3 separate regions of the Homo sapiens genome follow, and regions 1 and 3 are each linked to region 2. Evidence: promoter capture Hi-C in 16 types of primary human blood cells and fetal thymus (Javierre and others, 2016). All regions are on one chromosome and are shown on one strand. Each heading gives the region's core, a stretch centred on a gene start or on the middle of the fragment in contact. The rest is flanking DNA. Distances are from core to core; before and after follow the strand shown. Region 1 overlaps HOOK1 (hook microtubule tethering protein 1). Region 2 holds the start of ATG4C (autophagy related 4C cysteine peptidase). Region 3 has its middle 9.7 kb from the start of MIR101-1.

What was found. The method cuts DNA at HindIII sites, captures the fragments that hold promoters and counts their contacts. A CHiCAGO score of 5 or more calls a contact.
Region 1: a fragment that was not itself captured here is called in contact with the fragment with the promoter of ATG4C in region 2 in 1 of 17 cell types (non-activated CD4 T cells); the score reaches 7.4 in non-activated CD4 T cells.
Region 3: a fragment that was not itself captured here is called in contact with the fragment with the promoter of ATG4C in region 2 in 1 of 17 cell types (fetal thymus); the score reaches 6.6 in fetal thymus.

The regions. Positions count from the first base shown.
Region 1 is chr1:59,817,433-59,821,716 of GRCh38, reverse strand. All of the region lies in intron 1 of HOOK1 (hook microtubule tethering protein 1), which reads right to left. Among named protein-coding and RNA genes, the nearest start is that of HOOK1, 4.6 kb to the right of the region's middle. The HindIII fragment of the contact is 167 bases long and covers 1,167-1,333 here.
Region 2 is chr1:62,782,472-62,786,494 of GRCh38, reverse strand. It overlaps ATG4C (autophagy related 4C cysteine peptidase), which reads right to left and starts at 2,363. Exons shown (of 11, transcript NM_032852.4): 1 at 2,222-2,363. RefSeq lists a silencer at 1,883-2,177 and enhancers at 2,153-2,332, 2,453-2,512, 2,613-2,662. The HindIII fragment of the contact is 3,523 bases long and covers 1,198-4,023 here.
Region 3 is chr1:65,066,014-65,070,412 of GRCh38, reverse strand. It overlaps a transcript of JAK1 not described here. Among named protein-coding and RNA genes, the nearest start is that of MIR101-1, 9.7 kb to the right of the region's middle. RefSeq lists a silencer at 2,939-3,538. The HindIII fragment of the contact is 3,316 bases long and covers 1,320-4,399 here.

The DNA of each region.
Region 1 (4,284 bases), core at 1-2,500, 3.0 Mb after region 2:
CAAACAAATGGAACTATGCTAATATGTCTCTATGGCTGTGTAACTTTATAAAAATAAACTAAACATTTCACAAAATCATGCCTAGGACATTAGAACATATTGATGCCATGCATAAGTAATACATAATTTGGAATAATACAAAACCAGGTATATAACTCTAGTCTTGTGTTTTGTCTATATTTAGCAGAACATCAGAAAAAGAACTTAAAGATAACCCAACATTTGCAACTTAAAATTTCACTCATATCATTTGATAGAAAAACAAAGGCTAGAAATGTCAAGTCTAAACCTACTTACAGTTTATCCATGAGCTCTGAAATAAGACAGGACTTCTGTTTCCTATCTAAAAATTGGCCTTACGTCTTGAAGAATCAAGCCCTATCTATCACGTCAAGTTGTTTCTATCTATTTTGGCTTTAGGTATACTAACTTTTCACATATATCTGTTAAATATTCATGTATATATTGAAGAGAAGCGGAATAATAACCTCTTTTTACAATAAGCAAATATGAGATAGAAAAAAATTTAGAAAGCAAATTACATCAGAGCTAAAATGGATCATAAACTTTCTAGAAAGGTAATCTCAACCTATAAACACCTTAAGTTAAATATACTATGATTCTCTTTTCCCACACATACTCACCCATTTCACTGTTCACTAATAATTTCTTAGTTTACCATTTAACTATCTTAATCCAATAAAATTCTCTCCCGCCATAATTCACTTTTAATGGTTCTGTGCATTTTCAGAGTTGGCAACTGGAGATTCAGACCTCCATTATCTAACACAACACAGATGAATGATACCAGCAAACTAAACCTAGCCAGTTATTTTCAAAACACACAGAGACACTTTACTAAGCTCCTACGCTATGTGAGACACTGTGGCACATGATGGGGCTACAAAGGAAAACCACCAGGTTTCTACCCTTAAAGCTTCAGTCAAAAGTTAAGGAGAGGAGGAAGAGACATAAATCATTTCTAGACAATATGGTAAGTCCCATGATTACAGTATGCACAAAATGTTCTGCAAAAAATGGGTGTCAACTAATCTAATTAGGGTTTGTATTTAGGAAAGGCTTCTCGGAGATGATTTCTGAATGGAAGGTCTAGAGGGAAGAGTAGCATATTTTCTAAGTAAAGAAATAGTCAAGGAAAAAAAGCTTCAGGAAATAGGAATATGATAAAAGTACAGATACATGAGAAGAGATATTATTTTTAGGGAACATGCAGTTCAGTATCACTGGATTTGCAGTGCAAAGAAGGCTGGGGAAGGGGTGACAACCAACAGGGTTAAAGAGACAGGACTCCAAAGGGCCATGACAAGAAGCTTGGACTTATTTTACACTTAATGGCATTATCTACATAATAAGAAACAGTAGAGTAGTTTCTACCTCACAAGATGGTTGGGGAATTAAGTGAAATAGCAAATATACCTATATCAGGGCCTGGCATGTGGCATAAGCTCAACAGCTGTTAGCACATTAGCTATGAGTCAGGGTTTCTCCAAGTATAGGGCCTAGAAACAATATGTATCAGAATCTCTAGACATATTAAATAAGAAAATCTCCAACTGATTCTTAAATATGTCAATTTTGGAGAACCACTGCTCTGGGTGATGAAAAATCACTGAAAAGTAATAAGGAAGAGTAACATTCTTTGGCATATTTTGGAGAGCAGATAGTGACACAGAGTAGCTTTATGCCTGAGTCAGGCAGACCAGTTAGAAGGTTCCTGCAATGGCTCTGATGACAAAAATAGAGTAGAGGGAATCAGCATAATATTGACTGAGAGGAGATGATGAATTAATGGAATATTTAAAATACAAAATAAGAAGGATTTTGCAACTGGGTGGATGTACAGGGAAGAGAAACTCCAAGAATTAGGGCATCTTTAAAAGGAAAATAAACTGTGACTTCCACTTTTCAGCCCTTCCAACTTAAACATTAACTTTTAATGTGTAACTTAGAAGTTACATCATTAACTTTTTACAAAATTGACACAATTCATGATTTTAAAAGGACAATTTCAGAGGCACAGAATACTAGGCAAAATAAGAGGTACACATGCTAAGGGACTACCTCCATGACCACTATGTTCAGATTAAAATCAATTTCCCCTCCTTCCTGCCATGGACATTGGAGTGTCTCTGAGAAGTTCTTAAAATAGCTGCAAAATAAATTAGAAAACAGAATGTAATTTGATTTCACTCAATTGAAAGGCTTACAACCAAGAAGAGTGAATTAATTAAAAAGCTTAGTGGGGAGGCTGGGTGCAGTGGCTCATGCCTGTAATTCCAGCACTTTGGGAGGCCGAGGCAGGTGGATCACTTGAGGTGAGGAGTTCGAGACCAGCCTGGCCAACATGGTGAAACCCTGTCTCTACTAAAAATACAAAAATTAGCCGGGTGTGGTGGCACATGCCTGTAATCCCAGCTACTAGGGAGGGTGAGACAGGAGAATCCCTTGAACCCGGGAGGTGGAGGTTGCAGTGAGCCGAGATCATGCCACTGCACTATAGCCTAGGCAACAGAGTGAGACTTCGCCTCAAAAAAAAAAAAAAAAAAAAAAAAAAAAATGCTTATTGGGGCGAGTGAGGTCAAAGCAGACAAAAGAAAATGTATTCTTTCTAACTAAAGTCTTTTTAGTGAGTGACCCAAAAAAGACAGACAGGGTTTCCACAGGTGTCTACCGCTAAACACAGTGTTCTGGCAAATAATTACCTTACTCTCTTCTATATTTCTAAATAAAACAAATAATCAGAAATGTGGAAATGCTGTTCCTAAACTACTTTAATATAAATGTCACAGAAATCAAGGAAAATGGGGTTTTCACAACCAACAGCCAACAAAAACTCAATCTTGGATCAACTTTATTTTCATATTCTCCTCCTCCAGCTGCTCATTACAAAAAAAACAACCATTGCTTTAAGTTTTAAGATCTTCATAAAAATAATTGAGGTTTTAATAATTTTCTAAATTTAGGCATATATTAATTATTACTCTTTCCTTCATCTGCCTGTCAAAGAATGCAAGAACCAAGAAAAACATTTAAATATATTTGGTCCAACCTTCTAATTTTATTGGTGAAAGTAAGGTCCAAAGATATTAAACAAATTTCCAATGTCACAGAACCAAGTAGCAGAATTAAATTTATCTTTATACAAACATTTCTTCAAACTCTCATACATGTCCTCCAACATGTAAATGATACCCACATTTACCCTTTTGCCCTGAATTTTCTGCTAAGTAGCAGTACAACATTTCTAAGAGCCAATTATTTTAAGACGGTGAGTTCCAAATCATAAAATGCAATTTTTAAAAAATTGCCACAAGAGGCATTCCTTCACATAACTAACTTTTCTTGATGACTTCTCTAATTCTGTTGATGTTGGCTCCATTCTCCTCCTAGCGCTGAAAGAAGAGTTATTCCCAACTGTCTTATCTCCATGATTTGGCCCCATCATAACTTTTTTTAATCTTCTATCTTTGAGCCAGGGTTATCATGACAAATGTGTGTGTTCCACTATCTCCCTTTAATCTATAGCCAAAGGAGACCATTTGTTTTACTACTAGTGTCTCTTCCCTGTGTCTGGAGAACTAATTTCCACTGATTTCTACTTGCTGAAATCCAACAATCCTCTATGACCCAGTTAAAAATTCACTCCCAAGTATTTATAAAAAACTAAGCTATATCACACTTAATGGTGAAACACTAGTCTCTGAGGTGAGAACCAAGGCAATGATATTTACTATCACCACTTTGATTTGGTGTCTTATTGGCAATAGTTGTCAGTGTTCTCCTAGGGACAGAGCAGAAAATAGGTCATGTAAGAGCTCTGATCCCAAAAGCCAACTGGATTACTTTAGAAAGTACTGTGTTATAGATAAGACAGAAAGAGGTTAACAGGTTACAGTGGGATAAGGGTGGGAGACAAACTTTAGAAATGGTTGTAACAAAGAGTCCCTGAAAAGCAACATCTGACCCAAGACCTGAATGACGGAAGCAGCCAACCACTGGAAGAACTAGAAAGAGAATATTCTAGGTAGAGGGAAAAAAATCCCTGATGCATTAAAACAGCTTAGCTTCTTCAACAAATAGAAAGTCAATGCAGCATGATAGGCTTGAAGAACTGTTGCTTGAGGTGAGTTTGGAGAAAGTTGGGTAGGTGAGGTAAGATCAACAGTGCGGTTGCTGGCAAAGGCAAAAATAATTAGTTAATTAAAAAAAAAAGACAGTAAACTTCACTGGAAATCATCTAAAGAGGTAAAGAAAAGGCAACAG
Region 2 (4,023 bases), core at 1,114-3,613:
ACCACTATTTAAATTCCACATTAGATCTCATCTTCATGAAACATTCCCTAGTTATCTCTCTTCTCACCTTTAACATTCTAAAACACTCCCGTAAAATCTAATACATATTGACTATATTTTCTGCTTCTTGAAGGGAAAGTTTACATCTCATACATTCTGCTAGAGTATAAGCTCCCTAAGAGCAGGGACTTTTCTTGTTCACTCTATATCCCCAGCACCTTGAAGAGTGTCTGGTATGAATAGCTGCTCAGTAAGCATATGTTGATTTAACGCTCTTTATATATTTCAGGATAGAGCACAGATCCTTGCAGCTGTTGTACAGTGGGAAGAGTCGAAAAGAACTGAATTAATTTCCTTAAATTCTTCAAGCTTCAGTTTTTTCATCTGTTAAATGTAAATAATACTCAATAGCTTAGTTGGAATAACTGCGCTAATGCTTTAAAAGTATCTATGCAGAGCTGAGGACAAGAGGATACTCTTACAAACAAATGTTTTGGTGATTTTGTGACAATAGTTAAATAGTAAGTAGTCACTAAATTCCTACTAAATGAATAAAATCTCAGGAAAAATATTAAAAGATTGAGTAATGGCTACCGTATCATTTTTTTCAATAAAAAATTATATGAGTAAATTTATTCTGAAATATATTTCGCCCCAAATCTTAAGCATGGCTGAAACCATTTCAGCATTTTGTGCATTAATTAGGAATAATCCCAATTTAACATTGTACCAGTATTAATATTTATATTTTACTGACATGTATAGATCATACTTGATAGCTTAAAAAAGAATGATAATCTTAGTATAAGAACCTCTTTAGTGCAATAATTGGAATAGAAAACGAGCTGCAAACTCATTTGAGTTACGTGGTTCCCCAGAAAGCCAGAAAATTTCTGCCTTTTTATAAAACATTAGTGAACAGAATACGATGCTGTTCACCAGAACCATCAAAACATCTAGAAATACTTCATAACCAATCACCATAAATACATTTTTCCAAATACTTGAATCCTATTTTAAAGAAAAAGAGCATTAATTAAATGGCTTTTAATGACTTTTTGCTAAATTATACAATTCTTTAGATGGGCCACTTTTTGACATGTGGTTCTAAAAATTTTATAGCGAATGAACTGGTAATTCAATATAGCCTCAGATTATTGGACTAAATAGAAACTCTTCCTGTTCAAAGAAGAAGCTTTATCAATTTGAAACTCAGAAAATACATAGACTTTACCTTTCAAAGCCTTTCCACTCCCTCTGGGTATTCTCAATGGCTCATAATCTAATTACAAGTCACAAGCAAGCAAGAAGATCATTCCCTTGTCTCTTTCTGCCATCAACTGACACAAAATCATTGCCAAAAACCCACCGGGGACATATGGTCCGAGCAGGAAAACATAAGAAAACTCCTAAGTAATTCGGATATAAAAAGATGTAAGACGAGGTATTCTTCTGTAACTATAGGGTAGCAGTGAGCCCCATGTGGGTAAATAACCAATACAAAACGAAAAGGTAAGCCAAAGAAATCACAAGAAATATAAACTCAATAAGCAGTGATGCTGAGTTGACCGCTGAAGGTTCTCATATATGAATATAGTCATCATATGTAAGAATTTATTCTACACCTCCAACCTCAAAAGCCCTTAGATGTGGGTAGGGTTGGGAGAGTTCACGGTGAGCGGGAACCAAATGAAGTGAATGAACGTTAATATTTAGATGGAAAGGCATTAATATATGCAAGGCAGTGTGTTATGGCTTGAAGCAGTAACAAACACCAAAAAGGGAGAAAGAGGCTAGGAATGAGAACAGAGAGACAGTGGGGATCCAGTTATTATTATTATTTCCCTTTTTTTATTTTTTAAACGAGGAAAAACAGGGCCGACAGAGCACTGGCATGAGGAGGGGTCAAATGGATGCGATAGATCAGGGGAAAGAGTCTTGCCTGCAACATCTAAGAAAACCACAAGGAAAGGAGGAACAGCTGCCCACAGTTAGGCTTACGGTTTATCTCTGCAACCCAGGACAAAGCGAGGAAGAGTTAGAAGACAAATGACACTAGAAAGGAGAGACAAGGAAGGCGCCAAAACCCTCAGAGAACCCAGATGGTTGGCCACAGGGTCTTCACTGAAGGCGGACCCCCGCAAGAAACCCAGTCATTCGGGGACCAGAGACGCTAAGTCCCAAACTTCTTGACTCCTTTAGCCTCAAGCCGATCCCTCACCGAAAGAGAAGGACTGGAGAACTGTAAAAATGTGCAGGAGCCACCAACCCGGCAAATGCTCCAGCTCTAGCAGCAGCCGCCACAAAACCAGCCCGCACACACGCAGACGTTCCGACCTCAGCGCCGCAGCTACAGGTACTTTGAGCACCCCGGCCACCGTAGTAAGAGGAACCGCCTCCGCGTCAAATCCAACAGATCAGCCACTTCCGGGATACGAAAGCCTTGCGATTGGCAGTAGCGATAGCAGCGGCGTAAAGGCCTCTGCTATGCTTACTTTATCCATCCCTTTTTCCCACCTGTTCGCCACCCCAAGCCGCTAATCCACCAATGCAGCAAGCGCAGAACCAAGAGAAAGTATCCGTCTGTGAGCATTGTCTCTCTGATAGACAAACCACATTACGGCTGCCATAAATTCCTCTCGAGCACTTGGACTTCAACTACCAGCAGGCCATGCAGCATCACGCCCTTGCCTCTGGCGTAGGAACTGCAAGATCCAGCATGCATTGCGGCCCTCCTTCCTCGCACTCAGGACCAAGATAGAGCCAACCCAAGCCTCACTTTGATTTAAAAAAAAAAAAAAAAAAAAAGCCAGGATGCCTTCTTTTCCTGTTGTGAAGGAACTCTAAGCCAAGCCATTATTAGGACTGTAGGTTATTTATAAAACATCAAGGGATATGTGCACTCATTTTCCATATTCAGATTATTTTCAAGCATTAAAACACAGGACAGTCGGGCGCGGTGGTTCGCGTCTGTAATCCCAGCACTTTGGGAGGCCGAGGCGGGTGGATCGCTTGAGGTTGGGAGTTCGAGACCAACCTGGCCAACATGGTGAAAGCCCGTCTCTGTTAAAAAATTAAAAAATTAGCCGGGCGTGGCGGCGGGCGCCTGTAATTCCAGCTACTCGGGAGCCTGAGGCAGGAGAATTGCTTGAACCCGGGAGGCAAAGGTTGCAGTGAGCAGAGATCGCGCCACTGCACTCCAGCCTGGGCGACAGAGCGAGGCTTTGTGGGGAAAAAAAAAAAAAAAAGAAGGAAAAGAAAAAGAAAGAAAGAAAAAAGGACGGTCCGAAGATGCTTTTTATAACGTGGAAATTTTTGGCCAGGCGCGGCGGCTGACGCCTGTAATCCCAGCATTTTGGGAGGCCGAGGCGGGCGGATCACTTGAGCCCAGGAGTTCCAGACCAGCCTGGCCAACATGGTGAAATCCCGTCTCTACTAAAAATATAAAAAATTAGCCGGGTGCGGTGGCGCGCGCCTGTAGTCCCAACTACTCAGGAGGCTGAGGCGGGAGAATCGCTTGAACTCGGGAGGCGGAGTTTTCAGTGAGCCAAGATTGTGCCTCTGCACTCCAGCCTGGGCGACAGAGCAAGACCCTGTCTCAAAAAAGTAAAAATAAATAAATAAATAAATAAATAAGTGGAAATTTTTATCTTCACTCCTAAATGATGTCAAGAGAAATACTGTTACTGTAAAATGTAATCCTATGCCGTTTTACAGTACCGCAGATTTTGTTGGAGCAAGGACTACCAGACATGCTTCTGAATTACATAGGAAATTATACTAAAAACTAAAAATAAAATATGAAGTCTATGCCACCGGACTATGAAACCACATGGGAATGAAAACCTTCAAGAATGAAGAGTTGAAAAGTTCAAAATTAAACTTGAAATTTTTTCAATTTTTTAGTGGATTTGGTGGTTTAAATTTTTTTTTATTCTCACAGAAACAGGTAGCTGGATCTATTTATTTTTTATTCATGTACTTGGACAGCTAAATAACAAAACAACAAACAAAGGATATGAT
Region 3 (4,399 bases), core at 1,728-4,227, 2.3 Mb before region 2:
TGCTAGGTGCTTTACATATGTCTTAATACATTTTGATTACACTTCAATTCTAAAAACTCTTGAGCTAGCTGTTATAATGCTCATATTATGGGTAAAGAAACTAAGAATCGCAACTGATAAATAACTTGCCCAGACTGACACAGTTAACAAATTGGCAGAGCTGAGATTAGTACCAGACTCCAAAGTCTGTGCTCTCACCATGACTCCAGGAATTGTCATTTTCAAGTACATATTGGAGAGAGGAAGACTGGTGAGGTGCTTATAAGAACTTCCTTTAATCAGCCACTACATGGTACCTCAGAAGACTAAAGTTTGATTTTTTAAAAATGTGTGAGTGCACATGTGTGTAAAACAAGAGGTATGGAGGTATTTATTATAACTATATGTTTTGAGCCATGTTCTTTTTTTTTCTGTTCAGTTTTGTATTCAAAAGAACAAATGACTTTACATATATAATTAGACTTCATCTCCACCTTGACTGCAAACTGATGATATACTTAAATTACTATCACACTGTTGTTATCAAGGATTAAACATATGGGTTGTAGATGTTACAATCATTCATACCAATTTCATTTACCCCATCCAGAGGAATACATGTAGATCATGTTCAGATATGCAATGGAACCTTATCAGTCCAGATGTATAAGAACTGATCTGTGACAATCCAGATCCTCCTCTGAGCTGTAATTGTATACGGCAGTTATTCTGTTTTTTGTTTGTTTTGTTGTCGTTGTTGTTTTTGGTAAACGTGTACTTTTTGCCTGATGCTAACATCTTTTCAACAGTCCTCTTTTGCCTGCTCAACCGCCAGTCTCCCAGTTCAGTGATCCCAGGAAGAATCAGAGTCTTGTCTGCCCATGATGATTTGCTTCCAGTCTGCACCAGGTTAAATCACACCTTAAACTTTATCAAACTTTTGGAGTCTAAAAGCAAAAGCAACTCACAAAGTGCAAAGGTTGGCATAACTAATTTATTCATATGAATCAGAAAGAATTTAAAGAAGAGGAACCAAATATGGTAAAACGAGGGGCGGGGCGGGGCGAGGGGGGAAGCAGTTGATTTAAAAAATTGAGAAAAGCAAAACATGTTTTGCCTGGCTTTGTAACTAAAGAAGACTGCCAAAAATGGTCTGCAGAGGTGTAAGAATCAAAAAGCATCTCCAGTGTTCTACCTTCACCAGAAACATGCAAGGAATTTCCTAGGATGGAATTATGGAAAAGATCCTCTTCAGGCCTTCATTTGCTCATTCATTGCTAGTCATGGTGCTAAATATGGGAGATATAAAATGAGTATGGCATGGCCCTGGCCTCAAAGCTTACCCTAGTGGGAGATACAGCAACTGTGCCGTACGCTGATCTGTGAAAGGCACCAGAAAATAAATGTAAAAACCATACAGTGGATGCACAAAGGGGAGAGTGGTCAACTCTGTGAGTCTAATAAAAATAATTCACAATAAGCACATAGCGATGTTCCGTGAGTCCCGTCCCCACCCCATCCTCTTATAGCCAACCCCTAAGAGAAACGACAGGTGAGCAGGGCGCAATCCAAGCTGGGCTCTAATTAAATGTGTGCCCTAGAGCAACTCCTAGCACTACTCAGAGTCTCCGTTTCTCTCCCTGTAAAAGCCAGGAACCCTGCTCAACTATGAAGTCCATTTCTGCTCTGAATTAAGAAATAGAGGAAAAAAAAAAAAACCAGAAAGGAAACTCACGAAAAACAAAAGTGAAAGTGCCTGAAGGGAACCCAGTAGTAAACAAGAGTACAAAATTCTATATCTCACCGGAAAACAGTGGCAGAGTTCCCAAATATTTTTTTTTCAGCAACTGTGAACTTCGGAAAGAATGAAATGTCTATCACTCCCTTTGAATGTGAATAAGATCAGTGTAACACGAATCCACCTTGCTCTATGCAACTGTCTTCTGAAACAATCCTCTGACCCTGAACACCACTTATTTAAATAAGCGGTTCTTAAATCAATCAATCCGTAGTGAATGGTCCATCCCCACAAAACCAATCCCCATTGAAGACCACACCAAGTTGTGCCCCACTTTGGGAAAAGGGGGAAAGCGGGGGTAGAGAAAGAGGGGAAGGATTGGAACCAACATTAGATTGTGCCTGGTGTTGCCACGCGGTTGTCATAAACAACGGCGTCGAAGCAAACTGTTTTAAAACTTAGAAAATACGGCGGCCTTTAAACTCTATTATGTCCCTGCTCATGGCAATAGTGGGACTTCTCTGAACGTAGCCCACAACGGTACAGCCGCCCGGGAGGGAAAGCGAGCTCTGGGGCGGACAGGCGAGTGAAGGCAGCCAGAGGAGGGGAGCAGGCTGACAGCTCCCCCAGCTTCCGCGGCGCGTGGGGGACCAGGACGGGCGACCGCCACAATCAGAGGGTGCGAGCTGGACCCACCGGGGCCACTGGTCTCCAGGGTGGGAGGATGGCTGCTGCCTGTCCGCTGCCGGAGCCTCCTTTCTCCCAGCAGAGGAGGGAGAGCGCGCGCACGTACACACACTCTCATACACACACGCACGCACACACATCCTTCCCTTAGAGTTGTGTCTCGTCTCCCTTTTGTTTTTCTCCCTTCCCGGTCATGAGACCCGGAAGTTTTTTTTTTTTTTTTTTTTAATCCCGTCTCTCTCCCTTTTCCAACCCCCCCGCCATCTATCACATGGCAGAGATAGAATAAAAACAGAAAAATGGCGACGGTCACGTTGTGGCGAGCCTTGCTGCGTCATTAGATAATCCTCATGCAAATAGCGGGAAGAACAAAGGAAGGGGAGCCCGGGACCCCCGGGGGCGCAGGTGGGTGTGGGGGCGGCGGCCGGGCGCGGGGGCGGCGGGGCGCGCGGGGCCGAGCGCCCGCGGGAGGCGGGCTGCGTGGGGCGTGCGGCCGCGCGAGGCTCGGGGCGCAGAGTGTGGACGTCCGAGTGCGCGCCCGTGCGCCGCCGTGGAGCGCTGGCTGCTGCGCTCCCGGCCCCGTCTCGCGGCGCGTCGGAGCCGGCCTGGGGACGCGGGAAGCCGTGGGGCGCACAGAGCGGCTCCGGCGAGGCTGGCCGCGGCGCACACGCACACGCAGCCGTGGGGCTCGGCCCGCTAGGCATCCGCACTGGGGTCTGGGGGCGGGCCAGGCGGCGCCGGGGGCCGAGGGCGCGCCACTGCCCAGCGCCTAGCGCCTGCCTTCAGCCTCCTCCGGGGACCGCACGCAGTTCGCCACCTCGGGGTAGGCGGCGGAGCGCGGGGGCGGCGGCGCGGGGCGGGCCGGGCCGGGCCTCCGCACTCCGGGACCGACTGCGAGGGTGTTGCCGGACTGGGTTTGTTGTTGTTAGCGCGTGCGTGTGTTTTTCCCGAGGGGTAGCGGGGCGACCTCGCCCATGGGCATTTCCGCGGTTTTGCGCGGCCCTCGCTGGGGTGTCAGTGGCAACGCGGGGAGCCCCGGGCGCCTGGCTCGGCCCCCGGAGGGGAGCGGCGCGGAGGGGCGGGGTGTGTGTGTAAATGTTGCGCACTCGCTTTTCCCCCGCCCCCGCCCGCGTCCAGGGTGCTGGCGTGGGTCCCTTGCCGTCCGGCGGCGACTGTAAATAGAGCCTGGATGTTGTTTACATGAAGGATCCGGCGGGAGGAGTCTAAGAGGAGGAGGCGGCGGTGCCGGAGGAGGAGGAGGAGGGAGGGAGAAGAGAGGAAGACCGGAGTCCCCGCGGCGGCGGCGGTCCGGAGAGAGGGCGAGCCCCGCGCGGCGCCGGGGACCGGGCGCTACCACGAGGCCGGGACGCTGGAGTCTGGGGTAGGAGGGAGAACGGGCACGGGGCGGGAAGAGGGGTCCGTCAGTGGCATTTTTAGCTTGCACCCTGCCACGCAGATTCTCCCCGGCCGGAGGGGAGGAGGGTGGAGGGAGGGCGGGGAAGCCTCGGTTTCTCTGCACGTTCGGGAACGCCTTCTCCCCCTTCATTCTCCCATTCCCAGTGTTTTCCCGCTTCTCCCCGGGCTCACCTGTTTATTTCCATCAGCTAGAGCTCGTGGTTTTTTAATATAGGCATGAGAGTCTGTTTCTTTTATTAGAAACATTATTGGGGAGAGGGGTGCTTTGCTGTAATTTGTGCTGGTCCAGGTCGGTTTTCAGGAAGGGGGAGGGGACTTGGCGGAGACGCCGGCTCCTGGCCGCAGCTGACCCCAGGGCTTCTCCCTGCCTTCCTGTGCGAGGAATTCTTTCCCTCACTCTGCTACCCGCACGCCAGCTGCCACCTTCCTGGAGAAAGACCACACCTGTGCTTATCCCTGCTTTGAAGGAGAGGTGAGCTGAGAAACCAGGGAATCCCCTGCTCTCCAGGGTTCTTAGTTAGTCCTCTCCGCAATCCCAGCATTGGCCAAAAATTGCTGCTTTCACCTGCTGATTTAATT